5 separate regions of the Homo sapiens genome follow, and regions 2, 3, 4 and 5 are each linked to region 1. The links are contacts of gene promoters, found by promoter capture Hi-C in human tissues and cell types (Jung and others, 2019). All regions are on one chromosome and are shown on one strand. The core of a region is centred on a gene start or on the middle of the fragment in contact, and the rest is flanking DNA. Distances in the headings are between cores, read along the strand shown.

Evidence for each region. Contacts are between HindIII fragments. The study calls those that stand out against the background at their distance.
Region 2: a contact is called between the fragment with the promoter of ARRDC2 here and the fragment with the promoter of COLGALT1 in region 1, in 2 of the 25 tissues and cell types used here (lymphoblastoid cells and mesendoderm cells).
Region 3: a fragment that was not itself captured here is called in contact with the fragment with the promoter of COLGALT1 in region 1 in 4 of the 25 tissues and cell types used here (IMR-90 fibroblasts, liver, lymphoblastoid cells and 1 more).
Region 4: a contact is called between the fragment with the promoter of USE1 here and the fragment with the promoter of COLGALT1 in region 1, in 1 of the 25 tissues and cell types used here (spleen).
Region 5: a contact is called between the fragment with the promoter of SLC5A5 here and the fragment with the promoter of COLGALT1 in region 1, in 3 of the 25 tissues and cell types used here (IMR-90 fibroblasts, adrenal gland and lymphoblastoid cells).

Annotation. Positions count from the first base shown.
Region 1 is chr19:17,554,307-17,557,158 of GRCh38, reverse strand. COLGALT1 (collagen beta(1-O)galactosyltransferase 1) reads right to left here and starts at 1,510. Exons shown (of 12, transcript NM_024656.4): 1 at 1,186-1,510. The coding sequence starts at 1,445. It also overlaps a transcript of NIBAN3 not described here. RefSeq lists a silencer at 1,343-1,432. The HindIII fragment of the contact is 12,267 bases long and covers 1-2,852 here.
Region 2 is chr19:18,006,795-18,009,646 of GRCh38, reverse strand. ARRDC2 (arrestin domain containing 2) reads right to left here and starts at 1,477. Exons shown (of 8, transcript NM_015683.2): 1 at 1,063-1,477; 2 at 870-936; 3 at 529-676; 4 at 1-55. The coding sequence starts at 1,336. RefSeq lists an enhancer at 1,204-1,423. The HindIII fragment of the contact is 21,109 bases long and covers 292-2,852 here.
Region 3 is chr19:17,909,348-17,912,199 of GRCh38, reverse strand. No RefSeq gene overlaps it. Among named protein-coding and RNA genes, the nearest start is that of CCDC124, 22 kb to the left of the region's middle. The HindIII fragment of the contact is 5,842 bases long and covers 1-2,852 here.
Region 4 is chr19:17,213,949-17,216,800 of GRCh38, reverse strand. It overlaps USE1 (unconventional SNARE in the ER 1), which reads right to left and starts at 1,444. Exons shown (of 8, transcript NM_018467.4): 1 at 1,294-1,444; 2 at 950-999; 3 at 731-809; 4 at 480-632. The coding sequence starts at 1,395. RefSeq lists a silencer at 1,051-1,120 and enhancers at 1,141-1,460, 1,224-1,804. The HindIII fragment of the contact is 58,541 bases long and covers 1-2,852 here.
Region 5 is chr19:17,870,565-17,873,416 of GRCh38, reverse strand. It overlaps SLC5A5 (solute carrier family 5 member 5), which reads right to left and starts at 1,472. Exons shown (of 15, transcript NM_000453.3): 1 at 741-1,472. The coding sequence starts at 1,097. The HindIII fragment of the contact is 15,663 bases long and covers 1-2,852 here.

The sequences.
Region 1 (2,852 bases), core at 261-2,760:
AATCAGGTGGAAGGAAAAGCGACATTTGGGAGTTTAGTTTGACCGTAGTGCCAAAAGCTAATTCTGCCCAATAAATTAAGTTGACAATAACACCAGCAATGACAGTAATCATGATAATAAAATCACTGAGAGCCAAGCCCATGCCAGACCCAAGGGCTCCACATCCATTAACTGGATAATCTTCAGAGACAAACCCAAAAAGAGAATTATATTAATACGCTCATTTTCTTTTCTTTTTCTTTTTTTAGAGGCAGGTCTTACTCTGTAGCCCAGGCTGGAGTGCAGTGGTGCAATCATAGGTCACTGCAGCCTCGAACTCCTGGGCTCAAGCGATTCTCCTGCGTCAGCCTCCTGAATAGCTGGGACTACAGGCACACACCACCGCACCTGGCTAATTTTTGTATTTTTTTTCTAGAGACGGGGTTTTGCCATGTTGGCAAGGCTGGTGTCGAACTCCTGAGCTCAAGTGACCCGCTTACCTTGGCCTCCCAAATTGCTAGGATTACTGCGTGAGCCACTGCACCCGGACCCATTTTCCATTTGAGAAAACTGAGGCAGGGAGTGAGAAGTCACCAGTCAAAGGTTTCTTCAGAGCTCTGCCCCATTCCCTACCAAGAAAGCATCCACTTCCTCCTGGGCCATCTGGTCCTGGACTCCACCCACGCCGGTCTGAGGGCAGGGGTTTGACTGGGGCCTGGAGCCAGGCTGAGTTCAAGCTTAAGGGCAGCAGCCGGCACAGAAAGGCTTGCTGTTAGATGTGGCCTCTGGCAACGCCCCAGTGGGGGCTCTGGGCTCCGTCCTTTGGAGGTGTACGTGCCCCAGAGGGAGTTAGAGCCCCAGTTAGTGAGGCCGGAGCTGCCCTAGTAGGGTCCAGCAGGCAGAAGCGGTGCCCAGCCCACCCCAAAGGAGCCAGCAGGAGGAACTCGGTCCCGCTTGTGTTGTGGGGAGGGCTGTGTCTGGCCCCATGGGAGGACAGCAGGCAGGGGGCACGCGTGGACCCGTCCCGATGGGGGCAGCGGGCAGGGGCATGCGTAGAACCGTCCCGATGGGGGTAGCGAGCAGGAAGCACGCGCGGACCCGCCCAGAAGAGGACAGCGGGCAGGGGCTCGCGTGGACCCACCCCTATGGGGACAGCAAGCAGGGGCTCGCGTGACCCGCCTGATGGGGACAGCGGGCTCGACTCACCATAGCGCCGTGCGCTCCCGCGGGTGCCGCAGCCGCTCGAGTGCGCCCAGCGTGGTGGGCAACGCGTGGGCCGCGTTTCGCGCCAACAGCGCGATGAGCACGCGCGGCGCCTGCAGGGGCGACTCCGGGCTCCAGCGCTCCTCGGGGAAGTAGGCGTCGGCGCCCGGCGGGGCCCCCGGCGGCAGTGGCGCCAGCAGCAGAAGCAGCAGCGCCAGGAGCGGCTGCCCGCGCCGCCGGCCCGCGCGTGGGGCCGCCGCCATCGCGCCACGCGTCTCCTTTAAGTCGTTTTTCTGCGGGAGGACTCTGGCCGCGCCTTAAAGGGGTCATAGGGGCCCCGCCCGGCCGCGCGCCTTAAAGGGGAGGAGCGCGCCGGGCGTGAAGTCCAGGCCCCGCCTCCAGACGCTCTCCGAGTCCCAAGGCCCGGAGTGACGTCACCTGCAGCCCTACCCAGGACGCCCCGCCCCCGCACCGATCTTAAAGGCACATAGCGCTCGGAGCGCGTGGAAGGGATGTTAGGGGTAGCGTTAGGGTTAGGAACCCGCGCTTCCTCCAGGCGCCTCCTACCACTGAGACCTCCGCCAGATGCGCCGCCCAATTTCCCCATGTATAAAACCCGGGCTGTGCCACCAGGCGGACTTGGCTACTTAGGACCTGGTTTGGGACCCAAGAGACCTTAGCCTCAGTTTCCTCTGCTGCAACGTGGGTTTTGCCATCCTGGTTTTGGATCTCACAGGGATGTCATTGAGGGTTGTGGAGAATAAAGGTCATGACGTCCACAGACCTGGCGTCACATTCAGTCCCCGCCTTGGGCTTGCTATATGTGAGCCTCAGTCTGTCCATCTATAAAATGAGATCATAGAGACCCTATAGGGTTGGCGTGAAAATAGAGCCAGGGCATGATAATGGACCGTTCTGGGCACAAGCTCTTCCAGAGACAAGGGCCATGTTTTCATGGAAACGCTGTCAAGGGATTGTTTTCCAATACTCTAGAGCCGCATTTTCAAATTGATTGACTTAGTATCACACTTTTTTTTTTTTTTTTTTGAGACGGAGTCTGGCTTTGTTGCCCGGGCTGGAGTGCAGTGGTGCAACATAGCAAGACCGTGCCTCTATTTTTAAAAACAATAAAAACTTTAAAAAATACATCTGAACATTATTATTATTATTATTATTATTTTCTTTTTTTTTTTTTTTGAGACAGCGTCTCACTCCATTGCCCCGGCTAGAGTACAGTGGCGCGATCTCGGCTCACTGCAACCTCCGCCTCCCGGGTTCAAGCGATTCTCCTGCTTCAGCCTCCTGAGTAGCTGGGACTACAGGCACGCGCCACCACGCCCGGCTAATTTTTGTTTATAGTAGAGATGGGGTTTCACCATATTGGCCAGGCTGGTCTCGAACTCCTGACCTCCTGATCCGCCCACCTCAGCCTCCCAAAGTGCTGGGATTACAGGCGTGAGCCACCGCGCCCAGCTTATTATTATTTTCACAGAGAGGGTCTTACTCTGTGGCTCAGGCTAGAGTGCAGTGGCATGATCACATGATCATGGCTCACTGCAGCCTCAACCTCCTGGGCTCAACTGATCCTCCTGCCTCAGCCTCCCAAGTAGCTGGGACTACAAGTGCACTCAACCACGCCCAGCTAATTTTTAAATTTTTTGTAGAGATGG
Region 2 (2,852 bases), core at 228-2,727, 450 kb before region 1:
CACGGTTACAGTACCAGGATCGGGCAACCTTTTCCCGAGCCCCCGCTTGAGGTGCCTGTCGGTGTAGAGGAAAGTGACATGGATGAGTCACTTTGTGCAAACCACAGTCGCTGTGGAGCTTCCAAACCACCCCCAGCTGAGGGAGGACTTTGGGCAGGGCTTGGTTTCTTTTTAACAATCCAGGAACTATCCGTTAAATAGAGCCAGGAACACAACCCATCTTATAAAGCCAGAAATGAAATGTATAAGCCAAGTGTTTGGTGTGTAATTCACACTTGGTAAGCCCTAGCTCTGGTCTATTTCACAGAAGAGGCATCTGAGGCTCAGAGAGGGCTTCAAGACACTTGCCCAGAGTCACACGGCAAATGGGTGCAGATCCCAGTGGATTCCACACGCATTCCCACACCTGCCTCCCTCCCTGCCAGGGCCCACCTATGACCTCCATCTTATTGGTTGGTGTCGCCCAGCAGCCAGGCAGGCCCCTTCCTACAATACTCCCAACCTACCTCCCCAAGGGTGGCCACTCACCAGCAGGGCTGGCGTGTTGATGTCCACAGGCTCGATGACAGTGAACACCTTCCTTGCCCGGCGTGCTGGGACCCAGGGCCGGTGCAGGGTGGCCTTGATACAGTAGCGGACACTACCGTGTTTGCCCTCGAAGGATGTCACCAGGGTCCTAGGGTGGAGGGACGGGACTTCAGGGGACAAGATACAGAGACAAGCAGGCAGGGAGAAGGAGACACAGACACTCCGGGGGCCTCCCAGGGGGAGAGTCTTGGGGCTCAGAGGTGCCCAGATATCCAGTATTGGAGGTACCAATCTGGAAGGGGCTGCAGGCTTAGGGCAACCCTGCACCCCAGAGGACTTACGGGGGCAGCTGGAAGCTGAACAGGAACTCATGGCGCCCAGGAGGCAGCGTCGTGGTCTCCCCGGTATCTGCAGGTAGGAGAAAAAGGAGGCGACTGAGCGGTTGCGCTGGGGTCCCAGGGCTGACGGAGGTACCGCCGTCCAGGTGGTGGGAGGCACACAACTGGTGTTGGAGCAGGGGTCCTCCATCCGTACCTGGCGCCAGGAGCGTGGCGCGGTGGCTCACGACCTCCACGCGTTCACTGTAGCTCTGCGTGTAAGCCGTGCTCGAGCCCGCGCTGCGCGACTCGGTCCAGTGCACGTGGGCGCGGCCCCGCGCGCGCAGCCTCAGGGCACCCACACGCGCGGCGCTTGACAGCTCCAGCAGCACCCGGCCCGCCACGGCCTGGCCGCCGCTAAACACGGGCTCGACGCCCGCGGTCGCGCCGTCCAACTGCACCGAGAACGCTTTCACCTTGTCGAATAGCATCGCGTCCGGGGTGCGAACCCACGACAGGCGGAACCTGGCCTCGAACTCGCGAACCGGCAGCTCAAGATGCCGACGCTGCAGCCTCAGAACGCAAAATCGCCGTCAACGCGCAGGCGCGCTCACCAACCGGAGCAGAAAATCCCCGCGCCGTGCGTCGGCGCCGCTTTTATACGGCAGGGCGGGGGGGGGTGGGGTCACCGTCTCTTCCCCGCCCCGGGAAGGGACTCCACCAATAGCGCGACAAGGGGCGTGGCTCTGCCCAGGCGTGGAGCAAAATAACAAACGCCCCTGCTCACCGCCGGCTGCCCCCTTCCCTCGCGGACCCCGGGGAGAAACTGAAGCCCTTAGGCTGCCAGAGCTGGTCTCTCGCGGACCCCGGGGGTAAAGAGGAAAAAAAGAGGTGCAGAGGCAGGGCCCAGGCCTGAGGTCACCTAGCAGAGCCTTCAGCCTCTCGGCTTAATCACTCACCAGCCGCCCCTCGTTGACGTGACTCGAGGCATGTCCAGCCCGATTTGGGGCGGGGGACTCTCGCCCCAGTTGAGGGCCAGAGAGCCTATGACTGTTCCAGGCCTGTTTCCCCCGCTATGCAAAGGGAGAAGTGGAGGAGGTGGGTGGGACCGCCCTCCACACTGGTGCCTGCTGCACCCCTTTCCTGATTCAAGTCCCGCTTAGCTGGTGGCTCTGGGCAAATGACAACCTCTTGGAGCCTCAGTTTCCACCTCTGTAGAGCCGGGAGAAAGTAAAAATCAGTCCTGACCTCAGAAGGTTGTGCATGGATCATCGTGCAGCCCCAGCTGGACTCCTCCAAGAGCCTCGCTCCCGGGTCATCAACCTGCTCTTGACATACCGTCACTCGGTCGCGCCTCGGCGCATTCGCCCAGGAGCGGTACCTACGAAATGATGTTCCCTTCCCAATTTTCAGCCTCTGGCAAACCCTACCTTCCCCGCAGCCCTTGTGCCTGCTCCAGTCATCCTCAGCCCCCGTCCCGCCACAGAGCTGAATGCAGGGGACGCTCGGGCACCCCCAGGTCCACAGCTGCGGTGTGGCCACGGGACGGCGTGACCTCTCTCTGGGCTTCAGTTTCCCCAAAGAAAAGTCGCATGGAGTTTCTCCAGCGGGAGTTGCCTCTGCGTCGTCTGCGGGACGCTGGCGCCCTCTCGTGGCAGCGTAATGCGCTGCCGCTGAACCCATCCCCTGCCGTGACTGTCCGCCTCTGAGCCTGGCTCAGGAGACTTCCACCACCTCAGTGAGGTGTGTGGGTGGAGGGGGCGGTCATAAACAAACACGGTCACCCTCAGCCCGTGATGGGGATCGGAACAGGAACGACGGAGTTGGAGGCACAGTGATCAGCCTGGAAGGCTGCCTGGGAGGATGGGTCTTTGGAGTTGAAAGGAAGGTCTGGGACCTTAGGCCAGGTTTCAATGGATACTAGAGGGGAGACAGTAGGCCGTTAAGTCCGGGAGGAGAAGCGGGATTAGGTAACCCTGAAGGGACTACTGAGCCAGCGCCTCCCTC
Region 3 (2,852 bases), core at 245-2,744, 360 kb before region 1:
AAAAACAGGGCATGGGGCTGGGTGTGGTGGCTCATGCCTATAATCCCAGCACTTTGGGAGGCTGAAGCAGGAGGATTGCTTCAGCCCAGGAGTTCAAGACCAGCCTGGGCAACTTAGTGAGTTGCTGTCTCTACAAAAGATAAAAAATTAGCTGGGCATGGTGGTGTGTGCCTATAGTCCCAGCTACTCGGGAGGCTGAGGTGGGAGGATTGATTGAGCCTGAGAGTTTGAGGCTGCAGTGAATCAACATCTCCCCACTGCACTCCACCCTGGGCAACACAGCAAGATTCTTTTTCTAAAGAAAAGTTTAAAAATAAAAATAAATAGTCTGGGCAGGGTGGCTCATGCCTGTAATCCCAGCACTTTGGGAGGTGGAAGTGGGCAGATCACTTGAGGCCAGGAGTTTGAGACCAGGGTGGCCAACATAACAAAACCTCATCTCTACTAAAAATACAAACATTAGCCAGGCCTGTGGCGCACACCTGTAGTCCCAGCTACTCGGTAGGCTGAGGCAGGAGAATCGCTTGAACCCAGGAGGCGGAGGCTGCAGTGAGCTGAGATCGCACCACTGCGCTCCAGCCTGACAACAGAACGAGACTCCGTCTCAAAATAATAATAAATAAATAAATAAATAAATATTTGGTCTTTTGACCCCAGTTCCTGACAGAGTGATGGGAGTGTCTGACATAGAGCTCCTAAATCCCCTAGAGTTTCCTGGGTGATAGGAGCGTCTTTGGTTCTAAAAAGATGACTCTTGGTGGGTTCCTGGGTGGGGACCAACAAGACCAAGCCATCATTAGAAGCTTGGAGCTTTCAGCCCCACCCTCTTTCTCTGGAGACCGGAGAGGGGCTAGGGACTGAGTTAATAATCAATCATGCCTTCATAATGAAGCCCCCATAAAAATCCCCAAAAGATGGGGTTTGAAGAGCTTCCGAGTTGATGAACACATCTGCAGGTTGCAAGGGTGGGGTATCCCACTCTATAGAGACCATTGTGTCTCAAGGCGGGCTGTTTTGTGGGATTGAGCCCTTAACCTGCGGGATCTGATGCTGTGTCCGAGTAGATAGCATCGGAACCAAATTGCATCAGAGGAATCCCAGCTGGTGTCCACTGGAGAATTGCTTACTATGTGGAAAAAATAAAGACAACCCACACATCTGGTGTCAGAAGTGTGGTGTTGAGTGGGATGTGTGTTTTGTTTGTTCCTCTTACATTGTGTTTTGAAATAAAACCAATACTCAGCCGCAAAGCAACCGCATTGGTCACCCTTCTGCAACGATTGTGTTAATGTTTTTCTTGATTTCGTCAAACATGAGAGCCGCAGGGGTCTGCAGATTTTCATAACAAGGCCTCCAGGACAAATTGGCTCTTGAAATTATTTTGTGATTAAAAAGAAAAAAGAAAAGCCAAATTTAAAAAAATAAATTAAAAGAAGATTTAATAAGATTTATATGTATTCAAAAGAAGATTTAGTAAGATTTGTATGTATTCACCAGGAAACATGTTTTATGATTTGTTTTGGAAGGGCAAAAGCAATTTCCACAGTAATGTGAATTTTGTAATCTAATATTCTTTTTTTTTCTTTTTTTAGATTTTTGAGGCAGGGTCTCACTCCCATCACCCAGGCTGAAGTGCAGTAGCATGATCACAACTCACTGCAGCCTCAACTTCCCAGGCTCGGGCGATCCTCCCACCTCAGCCTCCTGTGTAGCTGGGACCACAGGCATGCATCACCATACCAGGCTAATATTTGTATTTTTTGTAGAGATGCAGTTTCACCATGTTGCCCAGGCTGGTCTCAAACTCCTGGGCTCAGATGATCGCCCCACCTCCCAAAGTGGTGGGATTACAGGCGTGAGGCACTGCACCTGGCTCATTTTTCTAAGAAAAAAAAAAATCTTTCTGTCTAGATTTTTTTTTTTCATGTTTGAGGGCTCTGCATTGCTGGGGCAACTGTGGATTTGACCAGCTCCTTGAACAATCCATTGCCAGGTCAGGACTTGGAGAAAGCAACGTGGATGACCCAGAGAGGGGCAGCGACTGGCTGCAGGCCACACAGCAATTTCATCAAGATTCCATCCTTAGGCCAGGAGTGGTGGCTCACGCCTATAATCCCAGCATTTTGGAAGGCCTAGGTGGGCAGATCACTTGAGGTCAGGAGTTCAAGACCAGACTGGCCAACATGGCGAAACCTTGTCTCTACTAAAAATATGAAAATTAGCTGGGTGTGGTGGCGGGTGCCTGTAATCCCAGCTACTCGGGAGGCTGAGGCAGGAGAATCGCTTGAACCCGGGAGACGGAGGTTGCAGTGAGCCAAGAATATGCTACTGCACTCCAGCCTGGGTGACAGAGCAAGAGTCTGTCTCAAAAAAAAAAAAAAAAAAAGATTCCATCTTGGTGGGGTAGGTGGCATGAGGTGAGCTACCTCCTGAGAGCCACCAGTTTTGGGATGATCCTCAATCCCAGCCCGTCTCAGACCTGGCTCTGGGGAGAATAGGATGTAGGGGAGACCTTCCATCCTTGCCGTGCTGTGCCCCAGGTGGGCCTGGAGCCAGCTGCACCTGAAGCTGACACAGCCCTGGGCCTCGGTAGGAGGCAAGTGGAGTCATTCCAGTGGAAACTTACCTGCTTCCTGCCTGGTCTTGTCTTCTGCTCCACCTGGCTTCTTGACAACTCTCCCGCTGTACCAGAAAGAATAGGAATTCAGGGCCTCAGTATTGGCTTAAGCTACAGATACCAAGATCAGCAGGGGAGACAGAGACAAGCCTGTGGACCTGAAGGGGAGGGGCCCCACCTCCCAGCCATTTAGGAGAACATTCAACAGGGCTGCAAGACAGGGCTCAGAGGACGA
Region 4 (2,852 bases), core at 195-2,694, 340 kb after region 1:
CTCCATGTTGGTCAGGCTGGTCTTAACTCCTGACCTCAAATGATCCGCCCGCCTCGGCCTCCCAAAGTGCTGGGATTACAGGCGTGAGCTGCCGCACCTGGCCACAACAACTCATATTTTAAAAGATTGAGCTGATCCACATAAAGTGCTCAGAAAGGAACTTGTCATCCTCTTTTACGGCTGAAGAAACTTATGTGTCTTGTAAGTTGCAAGCCAGGACTCAAACCCTGCTCTTGGGCCAACTCTGGGGCTTAACCAGACACATTCCATTTTTGCCTTGTACCAAATTCCTATTCATCTAGCAAAGCCTTAGCCACAATGCCCCTCTGTTGGGCAGCCTTGTGTGATGACCCAGGGAAGAGATTGCTGGACCCCCTTAGGGTTCCTGTATCTGACAGTATTGTGGTTCTGGCTGCCTACAAGCATAGAACCCCTATTCCTGTCCAAGGGATTCCCAGGGACCAGGGAAGGAGCCCTACCGTGCCTAGTAGCTCACTCCGCATCTCGCTGGTGTACCGCGCCCGTGACTGCAGATGCACCGTCTTTGTGGCGGGCACTCGCTCTCTGGCTGTGGTTGGCACACGGCCAGGGGCCAGGAACTGGTTGGCCAGTGCTTTCTCTGAGGAGGAGGTCTGCAGAAATGTGGGAAGATAAGTCACTGGAGGGGCAGGTCCTGGGGACCAAAGTGAGCGGTGATGGGGGCTGAGGGGGCAGGGGCACCCCTTCTCACCAGCTTCTCGGCTTGCAGCATCCCCTTCAGAAAATCCACCTTCCAGGAATATTCATTGATCACCTCAGAGGCCGGTTTGCTGGAAGGCAGGAAGAAGAAAAACAAAACCTGTCCATGGTCCCCAGCTCAGGGAAGGGTCCCAGCTGGGATAGCGGTACTGGGATGTCCAGTAGCACAGCCACGTGCTGATGTGAAAGCCCTGAGGCTGCCTGCACTCACCTCGCGTGGACCTTCAGGGCCTGCAACATGTCCTCTAGGGCTCCCACGTACTGGGGAGGAAAAGTGGATTGTCACCCGGGGGTCTTTCCCATGTCCTGATCATGGGAGTCGGGGGGGCGGGGCCGACAAATGGGAGGGGTCAAGCGTAAAGGAGGCGGGGCCAGTGGGGGAGGGGCGGAGTCCCAGGGACGGGGGCGGAAGCTACAGGTGGACGTGGCGGGACTGACCGGAAAGGGCGCTGCCCGAGAGGCTACTGGGGCCGGGGAGTCGGGCCAGGTGGCTTCCAACCCTAGGAATCACCCCCCGGGAGTCGGGCTCTACGCGGCAGTGCGAGATCCCCTCACCTTCTCCAGGCGCCACTCGTCCGGGTCCCGTTTCTCCGCTGCCATCGCCTCGCAGCGGGATAGCAGCCGCACCAGGTTTAGCTCCAGCCTCGACGCCGCCATTATCGCCCGGCCCTACACCACCCCTTCCGCCGGCTCCATGTTAAGAGAGGGCGGAAGTGCCTTCAAGTGGCCTTCCGGGCGGATGTTTCCCCCGCGCTCGTTAGCTGGCCCATCTTTGTTTGGAGCGGAAGTAATATCTTGTTTTGAGACGGGGCGCTGGGCCGGGCGCGGTGGCTCAGGGCTGTAATGCCAGCATTTTAGGAGGCAGAGGTGGGAAAGGATTGCTTGAGGCCAGCCCGGGCAAGATAGCGCTACTCTATCTCTATTTTAAAAAAATAGGAGAGGCGCCACCCCATTCTTACTTAGGCGAATCACTTGCTTTTCCTCGAGAGCATGTTAACCCTTCGGGAATGATAGGACGACCGGGGTCTTCTGGTGTCAGACCCGCGTGCAGTGTGCCCTTTTGTTCTGTTTTGCCTGCTCAAAGTACCTCCCCGCACCCCACTCCTACCTGGATTCTTCCCAGTCGGAGCTATTTCACGTCCACACACCCTTCCCGATTTCTGTAGCCTGGGATTCAGGAATCCAAGGCTTCCCCCACCTCAGCAGGGCTCATCTGTATTGTGGTTATGGGTTTCCAGGTCACAGCTCCAGCTCTGATTCCATCCTCGGCCCTGGGAGAGTTTAACTTTTCTGGATCCGCTTCTTCCCCCGGGAAATGGACAGTGTGACAGTACCTGCCTCAAGGGGCACATGAGACAGCTCTGCCTGAGAGTGAGCAAGGTGGGGCTGGGTCCCCCCTAACGCCCAGACCCCCATGGAGAACCCCTTCCCAGCCCACCTCAGTACCTGGAAGCTGAGTACCCCTATGCCTTGCAGTGCCTCTCTTCTGGAGTGACAGGATGAGGGTGGGGGCTTCACAGGAACCAGGGCCTGGCATGCAGCCTTCATGTTTTCCCACACCTTAGGTCATCTGCACCTTGGTTACACCAGTGGGCCTGATGTCCTTGAAAAATATCATAGACGGGTAGGTGCGGTGGCTCACACCTGTAATCCCAGCACTTAGGGAGGCTGAGGCAGATGGATCACCTGAGGTCAGGAGTTTGAGACCAGCCTGGCCAACATGGTGAAACCCCGTCTCTACTAAAAATACAAAAATTAGCCGGGCGTGATGGTGGGTGCCTGTAATCCCAGCTACTTGGGAGACTGAGGCAGGAGAATCGCTTGAACCCAGGAGGTGGATGTTGCAGTGAGCCGAGATTGTGCCACTGCACTCCAGCTTGGGCAACAAAGCAAGACTCCGTCTCAAAAAAAAAAAAAAAAAAAGAAAATACCATGGAGGGCCAGGTGCGGTGGCTCACGCCTGTAATCCCAGCACTTTGGGAGGGTGAGGTGGATGGATCACTGGAGGTCAGGAGTTTGGAGAGCAGCCTGGCCAACATGGTGAAACCCTGTCTCTATCAAAAAACACAAAAATTAGCTGGGCTTGGTTGTGCGTGCCTGTAATCCCAGCTACT
Region 5 (2,852 bases), core at 223-2,722, 320 kb before region 1:
GTGACGCGATATCGGCTCACTGCAACCTCCCGGGTTCAAGCAATTCTCCTGTCTTAGCCTCCCAAGTAGCTGGGATTACAGGTGCCCACCACCACATCCGGCTAATTTTTGTATTTTTAGTAGAGACGGGGTTTCGCCATGTTGGCCAGGCTGGTCTTGAACTCCTGACCTCAGGTGATCTGCATGCTTTGGCCTCCCAAAGTGCTGGGATTACAGGCGTGAGCCACCGCACCGGGCCCCGGTCACGATTTTAATCGCTTTACCCTCTCCCCTGGAGGGAGGTCCTGTAATTCGCCCATTGGACAGCTGGGAAACCCAAACAGAGAGGCACGCCCCTTGCCCAAGATACAAGAAAGCAGTGAAGCCAGGTTTCGAACCCCGGAGCCGTCAGCAGTCCCCTCTAGCGCGCACACGTGGGTCTGCACGCCCGGGCAGGTGGGGGGCAGGTGTGTGTCCACCCGTGAGGACACACCTGGTCGAGCCGGGCCCCGCCCCGCGCGCGCTTCCACCGAAGGAGCAGGACGCCAGGCTCTCTCTTCCTCCTTCCTGCCCCTCGCCGGGCGCCTGGGGCCTCTTCCTAGAACCCTCCCCACGTGTCTGCCTAGGGGCCCCTTCCGTTAAAGCACCGAGGTGCCATCCGCGTCCTCCTGTACAGCGGCCCAAAGCCCCAGCGCCTCCCCCACACGGGGTCCCAGCACTGCCAGTGGGGCAGGTCCTACCCCCGGGCCTCTGTCCGGTACCTCGTAGGTGCTGGTGAGGCCCAGGCGGTAGAAGACGGGCATGAAGAGCAGGGCGGTGAGGACCGAGTTCAGAAGCTGGCCCAGGCACATCCAGAGGAACTTGAGGCCATAGCGATAGGCCTCCGACGGCACGCCCAGCACCTGCACGGCCGACATGAAGCTGGCAGACAGCGACAGGCCCACGGGCAGGGCCGCCAGGCGCCGGCCCCCGGTGAAGAAGTCCTCAGCGCTGCGCTGCCCGCCCCGAGCCAGCCCGACCCACAGCCCGATGCCAGTGGACACCAGGAGCATGAGGGCAAAGACCCCGTAGTCCCAGGCTCCGAAGGTGGGCCGTTCCCCGGTCTCCACGGCCTCCATGAGGGCGGGTGCGGAGGCCCAGCGCGTCCTCGGACGCCCTGCGTGCTCAAGCGGGGGAAGCTGGCAGGGGCCGAGGAGGCAGGACGGGGAGGGCGGGTGGGAGGATGCTCGGCAGCCTGTCCCCGCTCCGTCTGGGGTGGGAAGCGGCGAGAGGGGCCGGGGCTCCCTGGGTTAGGAATCTATGGGCTGTCGATGTCCGTGTCGGCCTCCCTGTCCCCGCTGTCTGTCTCTGCGTCCGCCCCTGCTGTCTGTCTGTCCTGCCACCTCCCCTCTCACTCTGGGTTCCGCTGTCCCATGCAGCCGGCTGTCTGTCCCTCTCCCTGGGCGCTGTGCTCAGCGCTGACAGCTGGAGGTCGCCTTGGGGCTTACGGGAGCAGCTCGTGATTGTGGGTTGCAGATTTATTGGGCTCCCGGGTCACCGCGACTCCGCCTCCAGACCTAGGGGCGGGCAGGACCCGCACCCTTTCAGCCCTGGACTGGGACAGACAGGCCAGGACAGGCTATCTGGGTGGCTGCAGGGGGTGGTATCGGGGAGGGCTCCCAAATGCCCCTCCATCCCCATGCACCCACCCATCCCCATGCACTGTGATCCCCTGATCACAGCTGTCACTGTCTGCTGTTGACAGGTGGGGAAATTGAGGCTCAGAGAGGGCATGTCACTATCCAAGCCTGCACAGCCTGCTTCAGCACTCAAAGCCGTATTGTGCTTGAATACCTTGAGCTATGGGGAGCTCACTTTCATGCAGGACTGGGGTTCACTTTCAGGGTTTCAGGGGACCCATAAAGAAAACTTACCTGGCTTTACCACCCCCAAACTGGCATGTGGGCCTACCCCCTTTCTCTAGAGCCTTAGGGGGTGGGCATCACTGAACCCCGCTCTTGGGCTAAGCTGGGTGGGAGACATTCAGAGCTCAAGTTCTGAGTGGGTACATACTTGGGGAAGACTTTGCTCCTCCCTGGGCCTTAGTTTCCCCATCTGTAACAAGGATAAAATAGACCCTGCCTCAGAGGAATAAATGGGACGTGGTAACGAAAGCCTGGTACATGATAAGTGCCTCATTCATTTATTCCTTTATTCATTTGTCACTTCATTCATTCATTCATTGGTTCCTTTGCAGATATGCACTGAGAGTTGGCCCTGTGCCAGGCATAAATGGCTCACTGAGGTGGTGCGAGGGGCCTTTAAGGTTATGAACCCGAATAAGCGGAGACCATGACCACCAGGGAGGTAGAGTCTGGCTTGTCCCTATCATATAGATGAGGAAACCAAGGTTGGGTGTGGGAGAAAGTCTACTGGGGGGGTCACGCTTCCATGAGGACCAACGAGCTGTCATCTCAGGGCCCTTCTCTGGGGGACCCAGGAGGACTTTGACCTCTGGAGGTTCTGGTCTCTGGGTTCAAGTCTCAGCTCAGCCTCCAACTTTCTGGGCAATCACGCATCTCAAACTTGGTTCCCTTCTCCATAAGCTGGTGGAATCTGAAATCCTGGGGGTTGAAAGAAACAGCGTCAGAGGCCGGGCATGATGGCTTATGCCTGTAATCCCAGCACTTTGGGAGGCTGAAGTGGGAGGATCATTTGAGTCCCAGAATTCGAGACTACCCTGAGCAACATAGTGAGATCTTGTCTGTATGAAAAATACAAATATTAGCGAGGCGTGGTGGCACATGCCTGTAATCCCAGCTACTCAGGAGGCTGAAGTGGGAGGATCGCTTGAGCGTGGAAGTTCGAGGCTGCAATGAGCTGTGGTCGAGAAC